Linked DNA regions of Homo sapiens: all the other regions are linked to region 1. The links are contacts of gene promoters, found by promoter capture Hi-C in blood cells and fetal thymus (Javierre and others, 2016). All regions are on one chromosome and are shown on one strand. Each heading gives the region's core, a stretch centred on a gene start or on the middle of the fragment in contact. The rest is flanking DNA. Distances are from core to core; before and after follow the strand shown. Region 1 holds the start of KLHL32 (kelch like family member 32). Region 2 overlaps USP45 (ubiquitin specific peptidase 45). Region 3 holds the start of USP45 (ubiquitin specific peptidase 45). Region 4 overlaps CCNC (cyclin C).

What was found. Contacts are between HindIII fragments. The CHiCAGO score rates a contact against its expected background, and 5 or more counts as called.
Region 2: a contact is called between a fragment that was not itself captured here and the fragment with the promoter of KLHL32 in region 1, in 1 of 17 cell types (total B cells). The highest score is 6.9, in total B cells.
Region 3: a contact is called between a fragment that was not itself captured here and the fragment with the promoter of KLHL32 in region 1, in 3 of 17 cell types (non-activated CD4 T cells, activated CD4 T cells and naive B cells). The highest score is 7.9, in non-activated CD4 T cells.
Region 4: a contact is called between a fragment that was not itself captured here and the fragment with the promoter of KLHL32 in region 1, in 1 of 17 cell types (activated CD4 T cells). The highest score is 6.3, in activated CD4 T cells.

What each region holds. Positions count from the first base shown.
Region 1 is chr6:96,923,272-96,926,172 of GRCh38, forward strand. KLHL32 (kelch like family member 32) reads left to right here and starts at 1,457. Exons shown (of 11, transcript NM_052904.4): 1 at 1,457-1,755. RefSeq lists a silencer at 1,184-1,493. The HindIII fragment of the contact is 7,655 bases long and covers 1-2,901 here.
Region 2 is chr6:99,485,898-99,488,597 of GRCh38, forward strand. It overlaps USP45 (ubiquitin specific peptidase 45), which reads right to left. Exons shown (of 18, transcript NM_001346022.3): 7 at 2,303-2,398. Among named protein-coding and RNA genes, the nearest start is that of USP45, 28 kb to the right of the region's middle. The HindIII fragment of the contact is 2,678 bases long and covers 86-2,700 here.
Region 3 is chr6:99,514,365-99,517,184 of GRCh38, forward strand. USP45 (ubiquitin specific peptidase 45) reads right to left here and starts at 1,059. Exons shown (of 18, transcript NM_001346022.3): 1 at 1,028-1,059. RefSeq lists enhancers at 67-974, 975-1,880 and silencers at 797-896, 947-1,316, 1,627-1,846. The HindIII fragment of the contact is 2,113 bases long and covers 261-2,373 here.
Region 4 is chr6:99,565,649-99,568,348 of GRCh38, forward strand. The region is part of intron 1 of CCNC (cyclin C); the gene reads right to left. It also overlaps the pseudogene TSTD3. Among named protein-coding and RNA genes, the nearest start is that of CCNC, 1.7 kb to the right of the region's middle. The HindIII fragment of the contact is 1,081 bases long and covers 728-1,808 here.

The DNA.
Region 1 (2,901 bases), core at 207-2,706:
ACTGTTTTATTTATTGATACCAGTCACTGTCAATATTTTTGGTTCAAAGACGCTTTCATATTCGATTTTCTGATAGAAGACAACGCAATGAAAACTATCAAGTTGCTTATGAAAAATTCTTAGGATGACACTGCACCTAATGTTTGTAGTCAGTTGTTTGTCATTCTTTCCCTTGTCCTATGCTGTGTCCAGGACTGCTAGATAAGTAGGTACCCAGCATCCTAGCGTCCAGATATCAAAACCATGAAAATGAAGCACTACAAGCCAGACAGATAACCTCCAGAGGGAGCAAACGAATAAACCCCCAAATCCTGTGGATCTAGAAGTAGAAAATAATCGCTGAACCACTGATTTGAGACCAATGAGAACATTAAGGACACCTCAAAATAGATCAGGGCACTGTTCCTAGCCCAACTCTGTGGCAGAACATAAACCTGCAAGAAATAGGATTAACATACTATCTTTGCAGTAAGTTAAATCCTGAACTTCTACAAAATACAGTTTACTCCAATTTAGTTACACTCTTCCTGCTTCTGGTGTCTTACCTCCACGTTGGACTAAGGTTTTCAATTCGGTGGTGGAATACTTACCTATTAAAATTACCCACTTTGCTTTAGTGTGAGTTTCTCAGCATGTTTTACACAGGAGTGACCTGAATGACTCGGAAGTGGCACTTGAGTGTGCCAGGCCCTGGAATTTAATGGTATGGTTCTGTGGTTGTTGTCTGTTTGCGGTTTTATTGCTGAATTAGTAGTAACCACAGTAATCACACCCTTTCTCATTTCTCAGGCTTGGGGATTTCGTCCACCTCTGGCGGGTTGGTTCCCCTGACGTTTCTTAAAGTTACTGTGAATTTGTTCTGGTCAGTACCATAGAGTGTATTATCCTAAGGAGGGCCACTGTAGGGCCGCTAGGACTAGAGGCAACTTGAACTTCACAAGTTAGCAGAGCAAGGACTCCCTGGAACACCGAGTTAGGGCCACGGGGTCTGTTTGCTCAGATTGCCCGCCAGCCCTGGGAAAGGAGTCTGGGGGCGAGCAGGCTGGGTTCCCGGGTCTCAGTCGCCGCAGTGGTGGCTACAGACTGCGCATGTGACCCAGGGGCCGGCGACGCAGGTGCCGGAGAGCGAGGAGGAGGGCGGCGTGGAGGAGGGTACTTCCGGGACCGGCGGGCGCGCGCTGGCAGCTCGCCGACGGCGGGGGCGGGGGCGGGGGGCGGCAGGGGAGCGAGCGCGCTGGCGGCGGGCGGTGGCGTTGCGCGCGGGGTGGCGAAAGGATGTGCGCGGGATCGCGGGGGAGGGGGAGGGAGCGCGCGGGCTAGCTGGAGGCGGGAGGGGGCGGAGCCCTGTGGCGTCTGAACCCGCCCCGGGGGTGCCAAGGTGCGTCTCCAGTCTGACGCGACCGCCTGGGGCGGAGTCAGCGGGACGTGCCACCTGCAGTGCTGGCTAGGGCTTTTTATTTACTAGGGAGCAGTTTCCCCGCGCGACAGTTCGGGAGCGCGCAGGCAGTCGCGCGCACACACGCACGCAGGCACACACACACACACACACACACACACACACACACTTTCGCACACACAAACACGCTAGGACGCTCGTCTTCGCTACTGCATCCCCGAACCAGCAGAGCGAAGCTACTGCGGGTTCTGTTAACCTCAGCATCGTGGGGCGAAGCAGAGCCATTGTGCATCAAGGAGAGGCCGGTGCCTGCGCTGCCGTCTCTGGCACCTAACCCAGCAGACCGCTCACCCCATCGGGTAAGCCAGTCTCTCTCCTTGTAACCTGTTCTGCAGACCTGAGGAAGAGGGTGGGAGGCTGCTGGTGCGCCAAGTGGGGGCAGACCCGGAGTTGACATTTCAGGGGCTTGCAGCCCATGCAGCCTCTGCCCGTGTCGTCTAACGGGAGCAGCCACTACTCAGGTTACTTATGCTGCCAGCCCTGGAGTCGCTCCCCCTTTCTTCCCTCCCCCTGAGCCCAATATGTACTGTGCTCCTTGGTTGCCAAGGAGACTTGCTTAAACATCAGCCGTGGGACATCTATTGAAAGAACTGGTTTCTTAAATGATGCCGTTATTTATTTTGATATTTAAAATAAAATATACACTGAGGACCTTTCGTAATTTGGCATTTGTTAATCTGTATTCAGGTGGCGGTTTCATTCAACTTCAAGAAAAGCCGTAATTGCACTATATGGTATGCTTTAAAAAGGATTCGTCAGATGAATTTTTCAACGGATTGTGTCTTGAATCATAATTTACTCCCATTTTGGTGATCTTATAAAGAAAGATGACTGCAGTTTAGATCCCTTCTTCCCCTCTATTTCCAGTTTTATTTTGCAGTTCACTTAGTCGTGATTATTTTAAATTAAAAGCAGATGATTTAATTGTGTTTCCCCACACAAGAATGAGCTTCTATTGTAAATTGACCAGAACAGGAATACGTTTGTGAATTCGTAACGTAAGAAGGTAGCATTCATGACATACATCTTTGCTAGCATTTTTATATCCCCTGCATCAGTATTGAAGCGCAGTTTTTTGCACCTCTGCTCATTTCTGAGAAGATTCTGTTTTTTAAAAAATCTCTTATTGATTATTTTTAGATCTATCTCTATACACAGATAGAGATAGATATAAAATGTGTGCCATGGCTTACTAGAGCTTATATGAAAGTGCAGTGGTTTTTGCTTTTTGTTTTTTTTCTGATGGGACTGGGTCCTCTACTGGAACACTGATAGGCCAATGGAACAGGTCAGCCTAATACCTGGGCTGTCAGTTTTGTTTTATTTTGAGGTCTCGGGTGTCTATTGGGTGAACTTGTAACACAGTACTTGAAGGCATCAGCAATCCAGTAATTACACTTTGCACGAATTTCATGCCTCCATCACAAACAAATGGCCCAGTAAAG
Region 2 (2,700 bases), core at 175-2,674, 2.6 Mb after region 1:
TAGATGTGGGAAAAGCATTTGACAAAATTCAACATCCATTCCGATAAAACTTTCAGAAAACTAGCAATAGAAAGGAATGTCCTCAAGCTTACAAAGAACACCTCTGAAAATCGTACCTTCGTATGTAATAATGGGAGAAGGCTGAATGTTTGTTCCCCTAATTTTGGGATTAAGGCAAGGCTGACTGCTCCCATCATCTCTATTCAACATGTTACTGGAGCTCTGAGCCAGCACAATAAGGTAAAAAAATAAAAATAAAAAAATAAACGGTATATAGACAAAAGACAAAGATAAACTGGTGATTCAAAGGGCAGTAACCAACTCAAAGAACAGTGCCACAGCTCAGGTCAACTTTATGCCCTAAAAACCTAAGATATAAGATTCAAAATTACCCTGTTAGAATGATACAAACCTAAAGTTATTAACTACAGTATCTAATTGCCATATAGTAATCCTGAAACACAGCTCTGCATGTCAAATATTTAAACTCAACATCCAATCGCATTTAACAGGAAATCACATTTAACAGGTCTTTTTAAATGACTAGGCAATAACTTCCCTTTAGTAGTTTTAAGGATCTCACTACACTTTATTTAGAATAGGGCATTGGAATCTATCATTAAATTTTTAAGGGGCTGAACAAATGTTTACAGGCTGCTTTTCGACTATATATACATATATATATGGTAAACATTTACATGTAAATATATATATAAAAAGGAGGTTATTATATATATATAACAGTATGTTATATATATAATAATACTGTCTTTCAAAGATATATATATAAAACAATACTGTCTTTCAAAAGTGCCTACTGGGAAAAACAATCTAAGATTACTAAGCATGTTTAGAGGGCTAAGCATTTTTAGAACTCTTTAATTGTTTTCAAAAGTCAGATCATGAGCTATACATATACTCTGACTTACACACTTACACACACACACAAACACACACACACAGGCTGATCAATTTCTCACTAAAATTATCCTTACTAGTATCAACACCTCCCAGCCAAAGTCCATCAGAAACACACCTATCGTTGAACTAGGTGGGTTTATTACTTGTGGCAGTGAGGGAGATCACGCAGCATGGGGAACCACAGGGTGTCCTAGTAAGAGAGTGCTGTAAAGAACCTACCCAGGATTTAGGCTCTGGTTGAATAACCTGAAGGTGGGTTTCAGGAAGCAGAGGTTTACTCTAGAGTGAATGCCCTCAGAAAGCGAGGCTAATTCTATCATGGGACATCTCAATAAATCTTACATATTGTGGCAGTTGGTGGGGGAGACTAAAATGAGGATAAATCTCTAACTAGTAAAGTAGCATTCCTTCATTTCTCATTTTGGCTGAAGGAGGGTGTTTCAGATTTTCTAAATGGCAAAGTGATCTTGTTTTAGACAAAATCATGAAGTGGACTTGCTTTGTCTTATTTCATCGTAGTCTCAGAGAAACCTACTATCAGATTGTTATTCTGTGGGATTATCTGAATAACATGGCCTAACTGTTGGTGCCAGGCCAGCTTCTGAATATCAGGGGCTGCTCTTTTTTTCATCTTTCTCACTAGCTTAAAAATCTATCATCAGGCTAGGCTTCAAAAAACCTTTAGATGTGGCCGGGCGTGGTGGCTCACGCCTGTAATCCCAGCACTTTGGGAGGCCGAGGCGGGTGGATCACGAGGTCAGGAGATCAAGACCATCCTGGCTAACATGGTGAAACCCCGTCTCTACTAAAAATACAAAAAAAAAAAAAAAAAAAAAAAGTTAGCCGGGCGCCTATAGTCCCAGCTACTCAGGAGGCTGAGGTAGGAGAATGGCATAAACCCGGGAGGCGGAGCTTGCAGTGAGCTGAGATCGCGCCACTGCACTCCAGCCTGCACTCCAGCGACAGAGCGAGACCCCGTCTCAAAAAAAAAACCTTTAGATGCTCACTATTAAAATTTCATCTTTCTTTAAAGAACAAAAATGCTAAATTTAAACAAATGTCACCAGAAACTACAAAATAGGGGTTATAGGCATTTTGCTCAATAGAAGTCACACCTCTTTTGTTTCTTCCAGTATGTTTATTTTAAAGCTGCCTTGATATCTTTTTATTATTTGATCCATGGCATATTGGAACCATAACATACCTTAAAGTTATGATTTTAGAAATTTTAAATCTGATTATTTTCACAGAATGCTTTTAAATTATTTTTAAGCCCCCTGGCTACTATCTTAGTTGACTGATCTGCGAATTAGGAAAAGAGATTTTGGTAACATCAGTGGCTCATCTGAAAGCAGCTATTATTCAAACAGTTATTACTCACCAGCTGAGAGTCTGAGGAAGGAAAAATCTTGAGTTTTGTACTACTTTCTTTGATCTCATTCATCAGATCAGTAAGAGTATAAGTCTGTGCCAAGTTCTAAAAGAAAACAAAATTAAAGTCTTCAGATTCAGTTAAAATATGCCTCTGATTTTATGGAATACACTCTCAAATTTCATCTAGCATAGCAAAAGTGTCTATTTCAAAAAATATTAAGATTTAGTTGAGTACATTTTACATTTAGTAAAGGTCACTATTACCGATAGAGCCATGGTAAAATACACAGAAGACCTTTCAGAAGCCCTGTGTGAAAATAAGGTACATGTATACATATGGTGATGGCCCAAGATAGCGTAAACAAAAGGAAAACAGAGAAATTTCTAGAGGAACATTTAGCAGTC
Region 3 (2,820 bases), core at 67-2,566, 2.6 Mb after region 1:
AATTTCGGCATAAAACATACTGTTCAGCACAAACCCAAAAATCTAAGTTCCCAGATGCCAAACAAGCACCAACATTGCAAGCAGTCCTTTCTAAGGATAGCAGTCTTAAGGCCTGCTATGTTAACTCTTTTTAGCACAAATATGTTCTGGCCATTTTTCTCATGCGGTTTTCCAAACAATAAACTTTACAGTTTTCAAGTCACCATCACTTAACACTTGTCTTTTCTCTAAAGTAGGATGTGCAACTAAGTTGTTTAGAAAGCTTTGTTTTTAAACAGGCTATGCAAAAAGCCCATATCCTTAAGAAAAAAAAATCCTTTTTTCCTACTCTTGGGCAATTATTTATGGGGGTTGGAAAGAGAAGAAAAGGTCACTATCTCCTTTTATATACCAAGCTCAAAAAGATGAGCAGCACTTATGGTTTTGCTGTGTATCACGCTCAGTTCTAAGCACTTCACAAATATTAACCCACGCAACCCTCACAACCACCTTAGGAGATAAGTTGCTATTATTTTCCGCATTTTACACTTGAAACTGAGAAAGAGAAGTGAAGTGACTTGCAGAGGTCCCAAAGCCAGTAAGCGGTGGATGGAGATGCGGACCCAAGCAGTCCGGCCCCGGAGCTCCTAATACACGACGCTTCCAGAAAAGTCATTAGACAGGCTTCCTCCGGTCACCAACACACACACACCCCGAGGATGTGAAGAGAAATGCGCCGCGATGAGGCGGACGGAAAGGTGTGGGGCCGCCGCGCGCCCAGGTCACCAGGGGACTCGGGCCCCTCCCAGGCCAGCCCCGACGCCCAGGGCTTCTCCCGCAGCCGCATGGACCCGGAGCCGGCAGAGCGGCGCTCACACGGCCCTCGGTGACCGCCCGGCGCCCCCAGGGATCAGGAAGCCGAGTGGGGTGGGGAGCCTCTCTTCCAGCCTCGCCCACCCACAAGGGGGTCAAGGTCGCCGAAGCGAAGACCGAGAAACTGCGGCGACCATACCGCCGCTGCGACCAAAGCGCCGCGTTCTCAACTCACCCCGCCGGGCCGGGCCGCAGCGTCTACAACCTGGGGAGACTGCGCCTGCGCGCTCGTCCCGCTCCCGGCAGAGGTGGGGCCTCGTTCGCCCGCCCCCAGCCAGGACCGGGAGGGTTCCAGGCGGCGCGCCCGGGGCCCGGGAGCGCGGGGAGGGGTGAAAGGGCGGGGCCGGCTTGCGTGGCGCCTGCGTTCTGCGTGTCCGCAGAGCCCGGAGAGTCCCTGATAATCTAAGACTCATAGCCACCGACTAGCAATTTGTTAGGATCCTGGGCCAGCGTGCGCACCTCGGATGTTGCAGGAGTCCGGCTTAAGTCCCACTTGTTGCTGGGCACCTTCTGAAACAGCCTCCGATTTCCCTCCGTTACCCTCCTCTGAACTCTTTTTTTTTTTTTTTTTTTTTTGAGACGGAGTCTCGCTCTGTCGCCCAGGCTGCAGTGCAATGGCAAGATCTCGGCTCACTGCAACCTCCGCCTACCGGGTTCACGCCATTCTACTGCCTTAGCCTCCCGAGTAGCTGGGACTACAGGCGCCCGCCATCACGCCCGGCTAATTTTTTGTATTTTGTTTAGTAGAGACGGGGTTTCACCGTGTTAGCCAGGATGGTCTCGATCTCCTGACCTTGTGATCCGCCCGCCCCGGCCTCCCAAAGTGCTGGGATCACAGGCTTGAGCCACCGCGCCCGGCTCCGCCCCCACACCCCCGCCGCCCCCTGAACTCTTAAAGTCACATCTAACATTCGTCATATATTATTGTGGTTTTTCCCCCATTGCTGTTGTCTTACCTATCCTTCTCTCTTCCTAGCTAGATAGTACATTTCTTGAAATACACCTATACCTCCTCAAAGCCCGGTTATCTGTTGAAGTGGCCAGCACATTGCATGTTTAGTAAAAGTAGTTGGTTTGAAAATATTTTGTTTCAATCATGGATATTGCAAATGCCAACACTGGTTATGGATAGGTTCTAAAAGTCTCCTGATCTTTCACAACTCTTCAGCCAAGGGACAAATGTGGCTTTAAGGATAAGAGCATTGGCGTAGAAATCAGAAGATACGAGAGTTAAAATTGCAAACACTAAATTTTTCTTTAAAAACTCTTCTAACAGTATTTACATGTGGAGAACTTGGCAAAGAAGGTTGATATTTGCTTATATCGTACTTAACAAGGACCATTCATTTAACAAACATAATTGAGCACAGATATGCCAGTTGCTGTTACAGGTATAGAGGTACACTATCATTTTGGGGTTAGGATAATTTTTTTCCCTAGGGAAAAAGAAAATATTCCTCAAATAAGAAGAGGTCATGTGGTGTAATTTTGAAGGCAAAATTGTCTACTTCATAAATCAAAAGCTTTCATGTATTTTAACTTTGGATTTGACCTAGAACTTGGAAGAACAAGAACAAGCAAACTTGAGCAAATCTAAATAATTTGCATCTTAATTGTGTCACTGTAAAAGAGATTTTAAAAAATATATGTGGAAACCCAGTTTATGATTGATTTTTTAAAAGGGATTGAATTAGATTATGGAAATTTAGGTTCTTTTCTTCATAAGAAAAAAATTAGAAATTATCAAATACCATACAATACTTAAATTTTCTTGGAAACGACAAAATTCAAAGCTATCTTGATTTCCACTAGATAGACCCTTAGCATAACCAAAATCTCCAGAGATTTCATTCTTTGTTTCAAAACTTGGCATAAATTAAGGAAAATTCTCTAACACTATTTTATTTTATTTCTGATGTTCCTCATTTACCTTTTCACTTAATTGAATGTAAAATTTACTACTTGATG
Region 4 (2,700 bases), core at 18-2,517, 2.6 Mb after region 1:
ATGCTTTATGTTTTTCATGTTAAGGAAGCATCCTATTTCTGTTTTAGTAAGAGCTTTAGTCAAGGATAAATGTTGAATTGTATTAGTTTTTTAATACCTTTACTGCTTGATTTCTTAATATTGACTATATTTCTATAATAAAATCCAATGTCATGTTTTATACTTTCAATGTAATGTTAGACTGCATTTGGTAATAATTCATTTACAATGTTTGCATTAATATTCAAAAGTGAGACTGTTTTTAGTGTTCCCTTTGCTAGATTTTTCTGTGTTATCATGGCTTCATAAAGAGAATTAGAAAGCTTTTCTTCTTTCTGTATGAAATGGAACAATTTCAAAAGGAGATTCTCTTGAAAGATGGAAAGTATTTACCCATGAAATAACACATAGCTCTTGGGTAATACTCTTAACTTGCTTTGGCTTTCAAATTTAAAACCCTGGAGATAACCCAAAAGTACCCCTGGGTTTACTTTTCTCATTCCTAATTTTGTATTTTTGTATCATTCCTTTTTCCCCTGATTTAACTAGCAGTAGTTTGGTCTACTGTTTTTATTTACTCTAAGAATTAGCTTTTATAATTTTTTTCCTTTTAATATATTAGCATCGTTATCTATTTTAAGTCTTTCTGTTTCTTTAGGTTTATTTCATGTTTCCTTCTTAATATTATTAAATAGAATATTTCTATTATCTCTCAATTATTCAGGATATTGATTTTCTAATACATTCAAGCTTTGGTTACATTCCATATATGGTACTATTATGATGTTATTTTCTAGATAGTAAGTAACTGTATTTTCAGTTTCCTGTGGATACCAATAAAGTATCCACAGTTAGTTTTGTAGTTTTTATTTTTGTTACTTGTTCATTAATGCATTCAATTAACCAGCAAATACTTAGTGCCCTTCTAGTTCATTTTGGTCACAGACTGTGTTTTGTTCTACCTCAACTACACTGTGGTTTGCTAATTAATTTCATCCCCACAGAGTCATTTTATGTTTTTAAAAAGATAAATTTCACAAACATTTTATGAGTTTTCCTCACAGAACTCTGTATGGAGAATAAACTAAAAAACTTTATAAATACTGCATTTCATCAAATTTAAGATTACATCTAGGATTCATCATTATTTCATATGCTATGAAAGCAACTGCCATGCTGATTTCAAAGATGTTAAAGTGTGAAAACGTGCATCTTAGAAGCATGAAATATAGCATATTTAATATCAATTGCCCTCTTTCACCAAATTCACCTAAGACAATGGCCTTTCATAATCTTTTCGTTTGTTTTTCCAGAATTGTCTTGTCTTCCACACTCGTTACCTTTTCCAGATAAGAAACTCCATGACTGCTCAAGGGATTTGAGCAAGGCAAAGTGGTCCCTTCTTTTAGGACTATTTGAATTGGGAGAAAAGAATAGTTTCAAAGAAGTACACTTAACTTTATAATAATTTTATATTTGAAAAGTGAAAACATATTTTTAGAATGCTATGAATAAATGAAAGCATAATGAGAACACTATTGAAAATAAGGCAGGATCTTTTTTTTTTAAGTTGAAAAACTGAAAAATCAACAGTCAGCTACTTGTCAATTCTCTCAGCTTCTTTCAGAGTTTATCAGAATATCTCTTCTCCACTACCTAAACTTTTTTTTTCAGGAGCTCTAACTCCAATACCTAAACTTTCGATACTTTAATTTTGCCCAAGCAATATTTCAGTGTGTGAAAACAATGCAACATATATACACACACATATATATATACATACACACACACACATATATATACACACACACACATATGATCAGTGGTAAAGCTTCTTTAACATGTCATCTCCACAGAATCACTTTATAGCAAGAGGAAAACCTGCTTTTCCTTAAATAGGTTACTGAGTTCATTGTTTCTTTTTTTCTCTTTGCAAAGGGCTAAAAAATGAACATCAGGAACAGATCCTATTCACAGAATCGAAATTTAAATTACTTACTAATGCTTTCTTAGCATAAAAAATTATACCAAGATACCTTGTCAAATTCTGTTCATCTTTCAACTATACAGTGGAAAGCCTACTCAAATGTTCAATTTACCCCATAACGCACCTTCCTGCCTGCTTAAACAAATGTATTTAGGGATAAATGTTTTTAATATTATTCTAGCTCTCACATGGTCACTGACAGAAACAAGAACTTATTCATGAAAAAGGTTAAAGAAACAGGTAAACAAAGTCACTGGAAAAATAGGCCTTTAAAACAAAATATAAAGCACAGGCTAATGAAATGGATAAATTTAGAGGGCACCTGCCCTATACCTTATCAATATAAAACTCCATCTAGACATAAAGTACGCGCAAGAAGCGGTTAGTAGGCAGAAACAAGCCAGACTCTCTCCTCTCCTCATAATATTAAATCCACTCAAGATATACAGTGAATGACAAAAGACCACGACGCCGATCACCCGAAGAAACCCCAGGTAAAAGCACGCCACAACTGTCCTGAACAGGTAGCCTCACAGTCTTGAGCTGAGTCACACTTCCCGTACCTGTGCCCACTCTATCCGACCCCCCGCGGCCTAGCTAAACCAAGAATCCGAAATTAAACTCCGAAACGTTCCTTCCCGGGAGACGAAACTCTCTCCCACCCCTCCCCCTCACAGATCCTTCCCTCCCCGAAACTGGGGCTGGGGGCGGGGAGGGGAGTCGCCTCAGAAAAG